Linked DNA regions of Homo sapiens: region 1 is linked to region 2. The links are contacts of gene promoters, found by promoter capture Hi-C in blood cells and fetal thymus (Javierre and others, 2016). All regions are on one chromosome and are shown on one strand. Each heading gives the region's core, a stretch centred on a gene start or on the middle of the fragment in contact. The rest is flanking DNA. Distances are from core to core; before and after follow the strand shown.

Region 1 (3,931 bases), core at 524-3,023, 260 kb before region 2:
CAGGATGGATCCTAAAAATGTTAAAATAAAAGAGAGTCAGAGGAATAAGAAACAAAGGGAACAAACAGAAAACAAAATGGCAGACATAGGCTGTAACATGACAATAATTACCTTAAATGCAAAATGGTCTAAACAGATCAATTAAAAGCCAGAGACTGGCAGAGTGGACGAAAAAACATGACCCAATCATATGCTGTATATAAGAAACTCAGTTCAAACACAAAAATATAGGTAGCTTGAAAATTTAAAAATGGAGAAAGATCAGGACGAACACTAGTCAAAAACAATAGAAAAAACAGAAGTAGCTATACTAGTATCAGATCAAGCCAACCTTAGAGCAAAGAAAATTCCTAGAGACAAAAGGAACATTACATAATGGGAAAAAGGGTCAACCTATAAGAAGACAATAATCCCAAATCTGTACACACCAAGCAACAGAGCCTCAAAATACACAAAGCAAAAACTGATGGAGCTGAAAGGAGAAATAAACACATCTATAATTATAGTTGGAGAGATTTCAGCACCCCACTCTCAGCAGTTTATGGAACTGCTAGACAGAAAATTAGCAAGACTATAAAAGGACAGAACAACACAACCAACTGACAGGATCTAATTGACACGTATAAAACACTCCGCCCAACAGAAGCAGAATACGCATTCTGTTCAAGTGCCCATGGGACATTCCCCCAGACAGACTATATCCTGATCCATAAAATAAAGCTTAATACATTTAAAATAATGAAAGTTATATACAGTGTGTTCTTTGACCATAATGGAATCAAACTAGAAATCAATAATAGAAAGGAAACAGGAAAATCTCTAAACGCTTAGAAATTTAAAATACAGGCCAGGCGTGGTGGCTCACGCCTGTAATCCCAGCACTTTGGGAAGCCGAAGTGGGCTGATCACAAGGTCAGGAGATCGAGACCATTCTGGCTAACATGGTGAAACCCCGTCTCTACTAAAAATACAAAAAATTAGCCGGGCGTGGTGGCGGGCACCTGTAGTCCCAGATACTCGGGAGGCTGAGGCAGGAGAATGGCGTGAACCCAGGAGGTGGAGCTTACAGTGAGCCAAGATAGCGCCACTGCAGTCTGGCCTGGGTGAAAGAGCGAGACTCCGTCTCAAAAAAAAAAAAAAAAAAAAAAAAAAGAAATGTAAAATATACTTCTAAATCATCCATGGGTCAAAGAGGAAGCCTCAAAAGAAATTAAAAAACACACAGAACTGAATGTAATATCAAAATACGTGGGACGCAGCTAATGTAGAGAGGGAAATTTTATAGCACGAAGTGTTTCCTTTAGAAAAGAGAAAAGGTCTCAAATCAATAATCCAAGTTTCTACCTCAATAAACTAGAAAATGAGCAAGATAAACCCAAAGCAAAGGAAGGAACAAAATAATAAAGACCAGAAACTGATGAAGTTTAAAATAAAACAGCACAAAAGTTAAACAAAAATCTTTTTCTTTGAAAAATCAATAAAGTTTATAAACCTCTATTATGACCGACAAAGATGAAGAGTGAAGACATAAGTCACCAACACTAGGAATGAAATAGAAGATACCACTGCTGAGCTTGCAGCCATCTAGAGGATAGTATGGAACTAGTATAAACAACTTTATGCTTGCTTGAATTAAACAATTTAGAAGAAATAAACCAATTCCTCAAAAACCACAAGCTACCAAAATTCACTACCAAGATTTTCACAAATTTGAAACAGACCAACGTGAACAAGCCTGTATGGCCATTAAAGAAATTGAATTTGTAACTAAAAATCTCATGGAAATGGCCGGGCATGGTGGCTCACGCCTGTAATCCCAGCACTTTGGGAGGCTGAGGTGGGTGGATCACCTGCGGTCAGGAGTTTGAGACCAGCCTGACCAACATAGTGAAACCCTGTCTCTATTAAAAATACAAAAAATTAGCTGGGTGTGGTGGTGGGCACCTGTAATCCCAGCTACTCAGGAGGCTGAGGTGGGAGAATCGCTTGAACCCAGGAGGCAGAGGTTGCAGTGAGCCAAAATCACACCACTGCACTCCAGGCCTGGGCGATAGAACGAAACTCTGTTTCAAGAAAAAAAAAGTCAGTGTAATCAATTATCTTAGCAGACTAAACAAAAATCAATCATATCAGTAAACACAAAAAAATTTGACAAGATCTAACACCTGTTCATGATGAATAAAAAGAAAAGGAATAGAATTTCCTCAATTTGAAAACTTACAGCTAATATACATAATGGCAAAGTGGTTTTCCTCTTAGATTGGGAACAATGCAAGGATGTGTGAACTCACCACTCTTATTCAACAGAGTACTGGAAGTTCAGGCCACTGCAATAAGGCAAGAAAGAGAAGTAAAAGACATACAGAATGGAAAGGAAAAATAAAACTGTTCCTATTTGCAGATGACATTATTGTCTATGTACAAAATCCCTAAGGAGTCTAAAAAAGCCATCCTAGAACTAGTAAGTGAGTTTAGCAAGGCCACAAGAGAAAAACAAACACATAAAAATTATTCACATTTGTATATACCCAAACAAACATGTGCAAACCAAAATTTAAGATGCAACGCCACTTATTAATACAATCACTTCTAAAAAGAAAAGGAAAGACACATGAGGTATAAATGTAACAAAACATGTATAGGATCTTAAATGCTATAACAAAATGAAATCACAAAAAAATCAAAGAAGAGCCAAATAAATGGAGAGATACATTATGTTATGGACTGGGAGACAGAGTCAACATGTCAGTTCTCTCCAAATTGATTAATAGTTTTAACGCAATTCCTATAAAAACCCCAATAAGGTTTTATTTTTTTATAAGCATAACAAGCTTATTCTAAAATTTATATGGAAAAGTACAAGTCCTAGAAGAGCAAACCAATCTTGACAAAAAAGGATAAAGTGGGAGGAATCGCTCTGATAACAAACCTTACTAGATTGCTCTAGGAATCAAGACTGTGCAGTATCATGGAGGGACAGACACGAAGACCAATGGAACAGAGCACAGAACCCATCAACAGCAGCAGTCTAAGGTGCCCAACTGACTTTTGATAAAGATGCAAAATAAATTAAATGGAGCGGGGCCAGGCGCTGTGGCTCACGCCTGTAATCCCAGTACTTTGGGAGGCTGAGGCAGGTGGATCGCTTGAGGTCATGAGTTCAAGACCAGCCTGGCCAACATGGCGAAACCCCATCTCTACTGAAAATACAAAAATTAGCTGGGTGGAGTGGTGTGTGTCTGTAATCCCAGCTACTCAGGAGGCTGAGGCAGGAGAATCGCTTGAACCGGGGAGGTGGAGGTTGCAGTGAGCCAAGATCGCACCACAGCACTCCAGCCTGGGTGACAAGAGCGACACTCCATCTCAAAGAAAAAAAGAATTTTTTTTAATGGAGGGACCGACTTGTCTACAAACATGCTGGAGCAATTAGACATCCATAAACAAACAAAAATAATAAATGAACCTTAACCCAATAAACCTCACTCCTTATACAAAAATTAACTCAAAATGGCTCATAGACAAACAGAAAGCAGAAAACTATAAAAGCATAGGAGAAAATCTTTAGGATCTAGGAAAAGAGTTCATAATCTATGAAAGGAAAAATTGATAAAATGGATTATACCCAAGTTTCATATTAAAAACTTTAAAGATTATACTAAAACTGGCCGGGCATGGTGGCTCACACCTGTAATCCTAGCACTTTGGGAGGCCAAGGCGGGCGCATTGCCTGAGCTTAGGAATTAGAGACCAGCCTGGTCAACATGATGAAACCCCATCTCTCCTAAAAATACAAAAATTAGCCAAGTGTGGTGGCGTGCGCCTGTAATCCCAGCTGCTCGGGAGGCTGAGGCGAGAGAATCCTTGAACCCAGGAGACAGAGGTTGCAGTGAGTTGAGATCGTGCCACTGTACTCCAGCCTGGGCGACAGAGT
Region 2 (3,554 bases), core at 540-3,039:
CCAGCCTGCGCAAGAGAGCTAGACCCTGTCTCAAAAACACAACAAAACAAACAACAAAAAAATGCACAAGCTGCTTTTACTTGTTTACTTATAAGGTAACAAGTGGGCTGGGTGTGGTGGCTCAGGCCTGTAATCCCAACACTGTGCGAGGCAGAGGTGGGAGGACTGCTTGGGTCTAGGAGTTCAAGACCAGCCTGGGTAACATGGCAAGACCCCATCTTTTAAAAAAGTAAAAAATTAGGGCTGGGCGCGGTGGCTCATGCCTGTAATCCCAGCACTTTGGGAGGCCGAGGCGGGTGGATCACCTGAGGTCAGAAGTTCAAGACCAGCCTGGCCAACATGGCAAAACCCTGTCTCTACTAAAAATACAACAATTAGACAGGCGTGGTGGCACGCGCCTGTAGTCCCAGCTACTCAGGAGCCTGAGGCAGGAGAATCGCTCAGCTCACCCAGGAGGCCGAGGTTGCAGTGAGCCGAGATGGCGCCACTGCACTACAGCCTGGGCGACAGAGTGAGACTCCGTTTCAAAAATAAAATAAAATAAAATAAAATAATAAAATAAAATAAAATAAAAAATTAGCCGGGCATGGTGGCGTGCGTATGGTTCCAGCCACTCAAGAGGCTGACGTGAGCTACGATCACGCCACTGTGCTCCAGCCTGGGTGACAGAGCGAGATCTCGTCTCTTAAAAAAAAAAAAAAAAGAAAAATGTCCCATTAGTTATTAAACTAGAATTGGGTTCCATTTGGCCACAGAGTTCTGCTTTATTTGTACTTTGCTACCAAACCACAAAAGTTCACCACTTGTTCTATTTGCCATTCTTCCTTTTAATTCCTCATGAACAAACTTAATAAATTAACTACAGCATGTCAAACAACCTTTTGCAACCCTTGCAATTTCAAACTCTTGGAGGGAGGCACCCCTGGCCTGGGCCAGCAGCCTCAACGCGCGGGAGCGAAGGGAGCGGGACAGCGGCTCCGCTTGCCAAGTCCCCAGTCAGGGGAGGAGCGGCGTCCCCACCGCGGTGCCCCTCGGGCTCCACACCCGCGTCTCGGCAGGCGGCGACGCACCGGACCGGCGGCTACCGGGCCCAGACTCCCGCGGGCAGGGCCGTCCCGGAGCCCGCGCCTCGCCGGCGGCGCCGCTCCCCGTTCTCATTTCTGAACAAAGACGTGGACCGGGCACAACTCGCTGACGCCGAGAGCGGCCGGAAACTGCGGGGAACGCGGGCCCGGCCATCCGCGCGTCCGCCCCGAGCCCCGCAGAGGGGCGGCAGGGCCAGCGACCTCCACCCCTCGGCCCCCCGGGACCCGGACTGCGACCCCTGCCCCGGGGACCCCAGCGACCCCAACGACTCTCATCCCTCAGAGCCCCTGAGATCCTGCCCCGCGACCCCAACGACCCTCATTCCTCAGAGCTCGCGGCGACCCCTGGCCCCGCGAGACCGCGAGCCCGGCCTGTGACCCCCGCCCCAGCCACCCACATCCCTCAGCGCCGCCAGCGACCCCGGCCCCGGCGACCCTCATCCCTCAAAACCCCCTGCGACCCCCGCCCCGCGAGGGCCCCGCGCACCGCTCGCCCGCCGGTCGCCCCGGGCTCCGCGTCCCGCACCAGTGTCCCCGGGAAACGCCAGCCGCCGCAAGCGCTGCCGGACGGCCGGGCCCGGAGGGGACTGGGGGACAGCGAGGGGGAAGCGTCCGCCGCCGGGGCGCACTGACCGTAGCTGTCGTCCTCCTCCATGGTGCGGGAGCCGGGCTCCGCGCTCCGGCTCGCCGCTCGCGTCCCGCCGCGCCACCCGCGCCCCCGCTCGCCTCAGCCCGGCTCGGAGCCCCGCCCCCGGCGCCCCGCGCCCCGCGCCCCGCCCGCCCGCGCCTGCGCCTGCGCCCGCCCCCTGCCCCCGGCCCGAGGCCCCGCCCCTCGCCCGAGGCCCCGCCTTCCTCCCGCGCGCGCCGCACCCCGGGTACCCGGCCTCCTCCCGAGGCTCCGGCCTGCGCACGCGCGTCCACCCGAGGCTCCTCCCCTGCCCCCGCCTCTAGACCACGCCCCCGTCCCGAGACACACACACCCCCCCCCCTTCTCCCGGTCCGCCTCCTGGGGCCGAGCAGGTTTCGGTTTCTGAAGGGCGGTGCAAGTCCCCGGGGTGGCGGACTCGACCTGGCCTGCAGCCAGGCTACTGCACGAAAGCCCAAGGTCGTGTCCGGCCACTGAAGGGCAGGGTGGTCCTTGCTGACGCCAACCTGGAAGGTCAGACCCGGCCCCAGCTTGCCAGGGAGGGCCCGGTCCTTGGCGAAAGGCCACAAAAGCTATTTGAAGTCATTTACTCCTGCGTTCAGAACCTTTACATGCTGTATGTCCTAAGTTTACTGCTTCTACTTCTTTTTATTTGTCCTGAGTTTTACCTGGGTCAAGATTGAAAGGAGGGCACTTCAAGTCCCAGCGTTTTGGATTTTATTTATTTATTGGAGACGAGTTTCGCTCTTGTTGCCCAGGCTGGAGTGCAGTGGCCCGATCTCGGCTCACTGAAACCTCCGCCTCCCGGGTTCAAGCGATTGTCCTGCCTCAGCCTCCTGAGTAGCTGTGATTACAGGCATGTGCCACCAGGCCCGACTAATTGTATTTTTAGTAGAGACGGGGTTTCGCCATGTTGGCCAGGCTGGTCTCGAACTCCTGACCTCAAATAATCCGCCTGCCTCGGCCTCCCAAAGTGCTGGGATTACAGGTATGAGCCACCGCGCTCGGCCTTCTCTTTCTTTATGACAGAGGACAATCCCACTGCTGCAGAATGCCAGCACCAGAACCCCCCTTTCCCCCTGCAGTCACTTGTGGCTCCTGCACCCTACACAGAACACTCACTGAGAACTCCACAGAGATCCCTGGACTGCTGGGAATTTTTTGGACCAACCAAAAAACGGGAGTAAAAGCCACAGAACTCTTTCCTTGTGGGCCCACCTGTCCTGAGTTTTACTATTTTTCTTTTTCTTTTATTTATTTATTCATTTTGAGACAGAGTCTCACTCGCTGTGTTGCTCAGGCTAGAGTACGGTGGCACCATCATGACTCCCTGCAACCTCTGCTTCCCAGGCTCAAGCAGTTCTCCCACCTCAGCCTCCTGAGTAGCTGAGACTGCAGGCACCGGCCACCATACCTGGTTAATTTTTGTATTTTTTGTAGAGACGGAGGTTGCTAGGTTGCCCAGGCTGGTCTCGAACTCCTAGGCTCAAGTGATCCTTTCTCTTTGGTCTCCTTCCTTGGCCTCCCAAAGTACTGGAATTACAGGCGTGAGCCACCACGCCTGGCTGGATTCATGATCTTAACCTTCACTGACTTTACCAGATTGTCCAGTTTTACAGGTGACCTTAGAGAGTCACATTTTGGCCCTAACGTGTCCTTGGGCTTCGGCGTGTGAGGTCAGAGACCCAGCTGCATTTTGTTCCTCTTGGCCTAGACTTAGGACACTTTTAGAATTGACCCCACATTGACCTGGCAAATCTTCTCAAACCATCTGTCACATGGGCTAATGGAGCACTGAGCCTCTCCCCCAGTATTTGCCATCC

The links. The method cuts DNA at HindIII sites, captures the fragments that hold promoters and counts their contacts. A CHiCAGO score of 5 or more calls a contact.
Region 1: a fragment that was not itself captured here is called in contact with the fragment with the promoter of CYTH1 in region 2 in 1 of 17 cell types (monocytes); the score reaches 5.9 in monocytes.

The regions. Positions count from the first base shown.
Region 1 is chr17:78,518,042-78,521,972 of GRCh38, forward strand. All of the region lies in intron 25 of DNAH17 (dynein axonemal heavy chain 17), which reads right to left. Among named protein-coding and RNA genes, the nearest start is that of DNAH17-AS1, 35 kb to the left of the region's middle. The HindIII fragment of the contact is 2,111 bases long and covers 719-2,829 here.
Region 2 is chr17:78,780,484-78,784,037 of GRCh38, forward strand. CYTH1 (cytohesin 1) reads right to left here and starts at 1,790. Exons shown (of 14, transcript NM_004762.6): 1 at 1,719-1,790. The coding sequence starts at 1,740. RefSeq lists silencers at 910-1,309, 1,570-1,849, 1,890-2,049. The HindIII fragment of the contact is 19,906 bases long and covers 1-3,554 here.